3 separate regions of the Homo sapiens genome follow, and all the other regions are linked to region 3. The links are contacts of gene promoters, found by promoter capture Hi-C in blood cells and fetal thymus (Javierre and others, 2016). All regions are on one chromosome and are shown on one strand. The core of a region is centred on a gene start or on the middle of the fragment in contact, and the rest is flanking DNA. Distances in the headings are between cores, read along the strand shown. Region 1 overlaps SON (SON DNA and RNA binding protein). Region 2 overlaps SON (SON DNA and RNA binding protein). Region 3 holds the start of MORC3 (MORC family CW-type zinc finger 3).

The links. The method cuts DNA at HindIII sites, captures the fragments that hold promoters and counts their contacts. A CHiCAGO score of 5 or more calls a contact.
Region 1: a fragment that was not itself captured here is called in contact with the fragment with the promoter of MORC3 in region 3 in 1 of 17 cell types (erythroblasts); the score reaches 5.5 in erythroblasts.
Region 2: a contact is called between a fragment that was not itself captured here and the fragment with the promoter of MORC3 in region 3, in 1 of 17 cell types (erythroblasts). The highest score is 6.0, in erythroblasts.

The regions. Positions count from the first base shown.
Region 1 is chr21:33,546,036-33,549,201 of GRCh38, reverse strand. It overlaps SON (SON DNA and RNA binding protein), which reads right to left. Exons shown (of 12, transcript NM_138927.4): 2 at 2,823-2,989. Among named protein-coding and RNA genes, the nearest start is that of MIR6501, 3.0 kb to the left of the region's middle. The HindIII fragment of the contact is 1,749 bases long and covers 643-2,391 here.
Region 2 is chr21:33,570,994-33,574,019 of GRCh38, reverse strand. SON (SON DNA and RNA binding protein) reads right to left here. Exons shown (of 12, transcript NM_138927.4): 9 at 565-712. Among named protein-coding and RNA genes, the nearest start is that of DONSON, 16 kb to the left of the region's middle. The HindIII fragment of the contact is 3,711 bases long and covers 1-3,026 here.
Region 3 is chr21:36,318,795-36,321,713 of GRCh38, reverse strand. It overlaps MORC3 (MORC family CW-type zinc finger 3), which reads right to left and starts at 1,517. Exons shown (of 17, transcript NM_015358.3): 1 at 1,411-1,517. The coding sequence starts at 1,449. RefSeq lists a silencer at 934-1,393. The HindIII fragment of the contact is 27,571 bases long and covers 1-2,919 here.

The DNA of each region.
Region 1 (3,166 bases), core at 268-2,767, 2.8 Mb after region 3:
TTGGGAGGCTGAGGCGGATCACTTGAACCCAGTAGGTCGAGGTTTCAGTGAGCTGAAATTGCACCACTGTACTCCAGCCTAGGCAACAGAGCAAGACTCTGTCTCAAAAAAAAAAAAAAACCCCACAGTATAACACCTCACGTTAAATTAAAAGTTACCAAATAAACTATTTTTCATAAAACAGTTAACCTGGAGACTACTACTTTTCTGATAATTCTTTCCACAACTAATGCCTGGGTTAAAAATAAATTATTAAACACCAAAACTTACTTTGAATTACATTAAGACATGTTTCACTAAATTCTATTAAAATAATTATTCCCTCCAGCTCTCAAATCATAGCAAAATTACTTTTAAACTACTTTTGTCACTGAATATATTTCATGTTATTAGTTGCTACAGTTTCTATTAAAAATACCCACATAATATAATTTTTGCGATTATTAACCCTTGTTTATACAGGAAGCAACATGGCACTGGCTCTGGAACAGACTGCCACTTTTGAATCCTCAATCAGTTCATCACTTACTAGGTTAATGGTCTTGGCCAAATTACTGACACACTTGTGTCTTCTAGAGTTAGAGGATAAAGTGAGTTAAAACATGCAAAGTACATCAAATAATGCCTGGCACAGAATAAGCTTTCAACAAAGGTTAGTGATTGCTTCTACAGAGTATAAAAATATCTGAATAACAAATATAAAATATTCATAGAGAACTCAAATTTTACCTTATCATGCCTACGTTACATTCTAATAAAAATAATATTTTCCCCCAATACTATTCTGAAACCACTAAAATAACTTTTTAAATGTTTCTGTTTTAGAAAAGGATACTGATTTTAGAGAGGAAATTCTTAGTCCTTATAACTTAAGAAAGTTTGAATTTACATACCCTAAAGAGATAACATTTTCCCCCAATACTATTCTAAAACCACTAATAAATAACTTTTCAAATGTTTCTATTTTAGAAAAGAATACTGATTTTAGAGAGGAAATTCTTAGTCCTTAATTTACAACTTAAGAAGGTTTGAATTTACATACCCTAAAGAGATGGGAGTATTCAACTTTAACAACCAGATGGGATTTATTTACTCTAATGCCAATATCAAATTAGATAAATCTTAGGGACCCCCAAAAAAGCTCATCAGAAATCTGAGCCATTAAGACTACAGAAAAAAGGCCGGGCACTGTGGCTCACGCCTGTAATCCCAGCACTTTGGGAGGCCAAGACGTGTGGATCACGAGGCCAGGAGATCAAGACCATCCTGGCTAACACGGTAAAACCCCGTCTCTACTAAAAAAAAAAAAAATACAAAAAATTAGCCGGGCGTGGTGGTGTGCGCCTGTAGTCCCAGCTACTCCGGAGGCTGAGGCAGGACAATGGCGTGAACCCGGGAGGCGGAGCTTGCAGTCAGCTGAGATCACCCCACTGCACTCCAGCCTGGGCGTCAGAGCGAGACTCCGTCTCAAAAAAAAAAAAAAAAAAAAAAAAAAAGACTACAGAAGAAAATAAATCAACACTTGACATAGGCCAAAGCAAAACTTACCATTTTCTATTAATTGTTTGTTTCATAATACAAAATGTTAGATAAGTCATACTTCAATGAAGGTTGTTAGAGCCATGAATCTAAGCAAGTCTGTTTGAGAGTCATGAATCTAAGCACAGCTAAAGTTCCCCCCAAAAAAGAGGACAAACCAACCATATTACAAACTTGATTCCAGAACTAAATCAAGGTAATGACTGTTATTTTTGTGGCTAAATCCTTCATTTCTAAACATCAATTAATCAATTCCAAAAACGCTAAATATTCAAGCAATGATTCCTCTCCATCCACTGCAGTTTAAGTGGGATGGGTATTTTTACACAACTGTTTAATAAAAATCCATACTCAAATTCCTGATACTAAGAAACTTAATCAAGCCGGGCGCGGTGGCTCACGCCTGTAATCCCAGCACTTTGGGAGGCCAAGGTGTGCGGATCATGAGGTCAAGAGATCGAGACCAGACCACCCTGGCCAACACGGTGAAACCCCGTTTCTACTAAAAATACAAAAAAAAATTAGCCGGGCATGGTGGCAGGCGCCTGTAATCCCAGCTACTTGGGAGGCTGAGGCAGGAGAATCACTTGAACCTGGGAGGCGGAGGTTGCGGTGAGCCGAGATCACGCCATTGCACTCCAGGCTGGGCAAAAAGAGTGAAACTGTCTCAAAAAAAAGAAAAAAGAAAAGAAAAGAAAAAGAAACTGAATCAAATAAACTGAAACTAAGTCAAAAATAAAAATTATATTCTACCAGCAGAGTAAACAAGTACATCAATGTTTGTTTTCCAGTGGAAGTATGGAAGGAAAATTTAAACAAGAAAGTCTTCATTAAATCAATTAAACAAAAGCTTAAATTTACTGAAAAAAAAATTTTTTTTTGAGATGGAGTTTCATTCTTGTCGCCCAGGCTGGAGTGCAATGGCGCAATCTCAGCGCACTGCAACATTCGCCTCCTGGGTTCATGCGATTCTCCTGCCTCAGCTTCCCAAGTAGCTGGGATTACAGGCACCCACCACCACACCCGGCTAATTTTTGTATTTTCAGTAGAGATGGGGGTTTCTCCATGTTGACCAGGTTGGTCTGGAACTCCTGACCTCAGGTGATCCACCCACCTCAGCCTCCCAAAGTGCTGGGATTACAGGCGTGAGCCATCGCACCCAGCCTAAAGTTTTTAATTTAATAAATATCTTAAATACTGAAGTCAAAAACTAACATTAACCTTCAAATTTCAAAAAAATCTTAAAAGAAAATTTTTGAGACAGTTAATTATCTCCAACTTACCTGGCTTATATCGTAGTTCTGTATCTAAGACCCCAGAAAGTACTTCCTCTATCTTCTGCACTATTTCTTCATTTGGTAGACTCCTGGCAGAGGCAGCTGCATCACCCGCCTGGTTTCCTTCAATGGGTGTATTTGTTTCACCATTCAGCTGGCCTTCATTCCTTCCACTTGACATGAAAAGTTATCGAAATTCATTAATATTTTATCATACCATTAATAAAAAAATCCAATTAATTACAATAATCATATGTTGTACTGACTGTCAGATGTTTTACCTTTTTCCTATTTTAGATATTCACCACTAATAATGCTTCTTACCATGATCTACTTATATTTTGGACATT
Region 2 (3,026 bases), core at 155-2,654, 2.7 Mb after region 3:
AATGCTAACAGTTCCAAGATGCCTTAACACAAGGCAACAGGAAGAAGTAACATTATTGTCAGCAGCTGGTCTACTATACTCTAACCCAACTTAACTACTGAGCTTGGAAGAAAAAAGCAAACAGGGTTTATGAAATCTAGACTAAACCAGTATTGTAATAGGAAATAATGAAGATGTGCTAAAATATCTAACAAAAAATAAACTAAACTCTAGAAAAAAGGATGGTTCCTTGTCAAGAGAAAATAAAATGGAAATCCTGTTTTCTAAACATGAAATCCAGTTGAATTTGGAGGTGTAATAATAAAATTAGATATATACACATTTCCATATTTAGCAACTAGCATAACAAAAGGTGCCTTTTAAAAGTTCAAACTGGTGTCTCTATCCATAGTTATATAAAAATAAGCTGCTCTGTGAACCCCAAAAGGGGTTAATGTTTTTTCTGACAAATACCTGTATATATACAAGAAGTGCCTTCAGTTCAGTATCACTGGGTTCAAAAGGATATATTAAAGGTAATGTTAAAGGAGACGTTAATAAACATTCCAAAAAAGAACTTGTTACCTTTTCGGTCTGTCTTAAAATCAACTAGGATGGGTTCCTTATTGCCTTCTTTGTTTTTTCCTAATCCTTCTCCTTCTCTCCAGCCCATTTTTCTCATCAAAACGGCTCCCATTCCTCCAGTTACCGGGGCTGCTCTTAAGAACTGATCCTATCCAAAGAAAGAAAGGTAAAATGTCCCCATTTTACAGTTAGAACTTGGTGACAGATTCATTGTTTACTTTCTAAAAAGAGGAATCTTACTTTACTTCTAGATCTGTTATAGCAATTAAATGTAAATTCCTCTATACTTTATACATACTGTAGTGTGTATGTTCTGATTATTTGCACATTAACGTAATAGTATTTTGGAAGTCAAATAAGACAAGTAAATGGCAGTTTTGAAACAGTAGCCCTCGTGCCCCCCTCAAAAAAAAAAAATTAGAACACTCCTGTTTTCGTCCACTATTTAGGTTCACTGGTATCTCTTCTTAGCTTGCAAAATAAAAAGAAGGCAATGTTAAAACAATCAATGATATTAATTGTCCCAGGTGTACCTAGTTTATGAATAAAGCCCAGAAATCACTTAGAAATAGTTTAGACACTGAAGAAGCATACTGTTGTCATCCAAAGTTTTCTTCCCCATTCTACTATAAAGCAAGTATAAATATTTTACTTAGAAAATCCCTAAAGCAGAAAAAAAAAAAAAAACTCTTGAAATTTACACAGTAACAAATAGAAAACAATCACATAAAATATCCTGTAAGTATGCCAAAATGAATTTGAATTCTTTTAAAACCTAGCTTGATGTTAAAAGACTTTTAAAAAACTCCTTAAATGTTTACATACCTAGGCCTCGGTAGCAGCAGTGTTGTGAATAGTACGGCTGGCACTGACCGGGGCAAGAAGACAGCTACAAGGATTTGGCCCTGAAACAAGTTTCCATACAGAGGGGTGAAAGTTCACAGGTTATTCTGTGAACAGTCATCTCTCTTGTATCCAACCCACTGAACCATAATTTCCATCAAAGCAGCAAACCACTTAATGTCCTAAGATGCACAAGTATATATACATTAGCATGGTCAACAGTTATTTTTACAGGTTAAGAAATATTCAATGCCTCTTATTAAAGGGCATCCATGTACATATAGCAAACAGTATTAAGTTGTACTGTTGATCTTTATGGTCATTTTTTAAAAATTTGAAACATATCTCCAAATCATGCTTTATTTTCCCCTTGTTACTAAATTTTAGGTTTTTATGTTCTCTTACCAAATATATATATATATATATATATAAATATATAATATAGCAAAAGTCATTAACTTATCAACAGAGAGAGTAAAAAAACTTCAGTAGCTCAGGAAATAGTATGCACATCTCCTATATTGATAAGTTAATACTGAATGTAAAAAAGAAATGTTTGTATGCAGTAGTAAAACTGTATCTATCATCTTTTGTTTCCCAGCTTTGTAATTAAATGCTGGGGAGAAAACATGCCAATGACGTGTGACTAGACATTAAGTTCATCAAGGTGCTCTGATGGAAGGAGGCAGCTGTGGAGGTAAAAACATACCCCTGGTTCAGTTCCTTATTTGGTGCAGGCCATGCAGTGTAGATGTATAAAGAGAAAGCTGATGCTTGGATATTAACTGCCTTGATGCTACACACCTAGAATGTCTTTTACTTACTTCCAGGTTCATCCGTCCCTCTTTTCCAGGGAACACGCCTAAAAAAAAGGGCAACTGTGCAGAGTACAATATAAATCCCCAAATAACCCAGGTTTCCAATTTTGTTTCCATTCCCTAGTATCATCATCTGTTTCTTTACCCCAGTGTGAAAAAGCTGATTAATTTAATGAGACCACAATAACAAACTGTATTTATCAGGTCACATCCAAATCATTCCATTCTAGAAATAAAATTTCTTTTAAACGAACTACTTTAAATGTTTTACTGATTAATGAGACTACTGATAAAACTTTGCTTTTTTTGTAATCTAAAAATACACTGCAACAAACTAAAAAGAACACGGAGGATGTTGGTATTCCATGTGTTTTTTAACACATAAGGCAGATGCTGGACTATACTAAAGAAGAGCCAAAATGATCGTTTGACAGGTTTTCTAAACACAACTAAACATTTAATGAGTAGACAATATTTGTGATATTTAACATGGATCATACATCCTAAATTTTCAGCTGCCTAATGACTTCTACATGTTGTGGCCCATTTTTAATTTTCAAAAGTTTCTTTTTTAGTTGATACTAGCATCAAATATTCTTCAGTAATTCTATACAAATGAATCTTTTCCTTTAAGTGCTACTTTTATCTATAATTTAAAATTTGGTCTGAACATATCTTTATCTCATAATTTATCAAAATAATTTGCTTCCCAAAGTATATCTTACATAAAATATAAAGTTGAAGCCTTTTTTCAAGGTGCTACTAAACATTTTAAAGTTATTAAAGTCTGTTAACTGCCTA
Region 3 (2,919 bases), core at 268-2,767:
AGGGGAAAGAGAGGGGGAAAAGGGAGGGAGAGAGAATAGAGATTTTAAACTAGGTAAGGCCAGACTTTACAATACCTTAAGCTAATGGGAAAGCGTTAGTCAACCCAGATTCACACAAGTGGGGAATAATTAATGTTTACACTCAGTGGTTAAAAAAAAAAAAAAGAAAAAAAGAATAAAATTGTCCTCTATTTTCAAACTACTAAAGCCTAGCTCACTCAATAAGCTAGTTACATAACGAAAGGATGGACCTTTATCCAGAATACGTAAAGAACTCTTACAAATCAATAAAGATCCTCCCAAAAGAAAAACAGAAAATGGTCAAAGGATATGAATAGGCAATTCAAAAAAACAAAACAAAAAACCACAAAGACTAATACATGCGAAGAGCTCAACAACACAAACAGTCAAGGAAACGCAAGTAAAAGCAAATATCATTTCACAAATATCGGACTAGAAAAAATTTAAAGTCCGTCAAAACCAGGTGTTAGAATCTGCCTAAACGAATGAAAGTCCCAGAGCAATGCACCAATTATTCACTACGTGTTTGTACCCCAAGGAGTCACTACCCATTCGAATGTTAAAATTAGTGGCACTAGGGCAGTCATTCTTTGGCAAAAGTCAACAACCTCCAGAAAAGAGGAACATTTCAGCATAACATCAACTGCGCTCACAAGGTAGAAAAGTTTTTTAGGATAATCAGGTGGGGAAGCCACGCCCACATTTCCTGGACGTGAGATTTCAAGTTATCTTGTGTGACCGCTCCCTACGATTTAAGATACAAGAAATGTTCACAGGGTTTCCAAGAACTCGAAACGCCCCAAAACAGACGCAACGCGGGATAAAGAGGAGAGCTCGAGCTCAGCGATCTAGGGTCTGGGCCCCAAGGCTTCCACTGCCAAGGAAGCTGCAGGCACTGACAGGCATCAGGCACACTCATCCTGACTCCACTCGCCCGCAGGCAGGCCCGCAGCCCCGTCCCCCCGCCCCCGGGACGTCGAGGCCGCCGGCGTTTCTGGACGCGGAACCCGCTCCCTCCCACCACGACGCCCAGCGGACAGAAGAGGGTCAGGGGCCCCGCGGCCCCGAGAGCAGACCGATCTCCCGCCGAGGCCTCGCCCGCGGACGACAGCTGCTGGGAGACTAGGAGGGAGCTGGGAGGAGGAGCCGCGACCCTGGCCCGCCCCGAAGCAAAACAGAAACACAATGCAGAGGCGACGGAACGCAGCCCGGCCCGCAGCCGAGCTGTTCCGCCGACGGGAGCGAGATGGCCGCCCCCTCCCCGGGCCCCGCCGCAGCCCCCGCCGCCGCGTCGGCCCCACAAGCCGCCACCGCCCACTGCCGGCCCCCCTTCGCTTGCCCGCCCGCCCTCCTGGGACACGGCCCGCTCCACCCCTCGCGGCTGCTCACCGCGCTGAGGCGTATCCCGCGGGGTGGCTGCGCCGCCATCTTGAGCGAGCTACAAAGCCAGGAACGGCCTCCGCCGCAACCCGACTGGGAGGTGGCGGAACGACTGTGGAGCCCTATGGGTACCGCCCACTTCCGGGGAGGGGCGCACGTCTGGCCCCTCCCACCCACTTCCGCCTCCAGGCAATGCCGAATTGGGAGCTTGGGGAAGATGAATTGCCTGACTGGTTAAAGCAGGGTACAGTGGGAGCTGAGCTTCCAGCGCGGGGCCCTGCGGGCCTAGGGCGCATGCGCGAGGCGCGGCCGGCCCGTACCCGTCTCGACACCCAGCTGGAGCTCGAGACTCGGGGATCTAGAGTTTGAAGCCTGGCGCGAGATGCGGTATACCCGAGACCGGTGAACTCCAGTCACTTGACCTGGTCGGATGTGAATTGCGCAGAAAAAAGCCATTCCATATCCACCAGTGTCCATGTGAAACCTTAACGAAATAAAGACGGAAATTAATGTAGACTGTTTGGATTTGCCCTGAAAACTATCAATCTAACTCATGATTTAAAAAAAAAAAAAAGAGTTCTGGGGCCGGGCGCGGTAGCTCACGCTTGTAATCCCAGCACTTTGGGAGGCCGAGGTGGGCGGGCGGATCACCTGACTTCGGGAGTTCGAGACCAGCCTGACCAACATGGAGAAATCCCATCTCTACTAAAAATACAAAATTAGCCGGGCGTGGTGGTACATGCCTGTAATCCCAGCTACTCGGAAGGCTGAAGCAGGAGAATGCTTGAACCCAGGAGGCGGAGGTTGCAATGAGCCGAGATTGCGCCATTGCACTCCACCCTGGGCAACAAGAGTGAAACTCCGTCTCAAAATAAATAAATAAGAGTCCTAAAGGCATAAGGCCGGTGCAGTGGCTCATGCCTATAATCCCAACACATTGGGAGGTCGAGGTTGGGGGTTCACTTGATAGGGGTTCAAGACCAGCCTGGCCAACATGGTGAAACCCCATCTCTACTAAAAATACAAAAATTAGCTGGGCATATTAGTGGGCGCCTGTAATCCCAGCTACTCGGGGGGCTGAGGCAGGAGAAGTGGGTGAACCCAGGACAAGGAGGTTGCAGTGAGCCCAGATCGCGCCACTGTACTCCAGCCTGGGCGACAGAGTGAGACTGTCTCAAAAAAATTAATTATTTTTAGAAAGAGAAATTGGCTGGGTGCAGTGGCTCATGTCTGTAATCTCAGCACTTTGAGAGGCTACATTGCGAGGGTCTCTTGAACCCAGGAGTTCGAGACGAGCCTGGGCAACACGAGGAGACCTCATCTTTACAAAAAAAAAATTGAATTAGCTGGCAGGGCGTGGTGGCTCACACCTGTAATCCCAGCACCTTGGGAGGCTAAGGCGGGCAGATCACTTGAGGTCGGGTGTTTGAGACCAGCCTGACCAACATGGCGAAACCCCATCTCTACTAAAAATACAAAATTAGCCGGGTGTGGTGGCACATGCCCGTAATCCCAGCT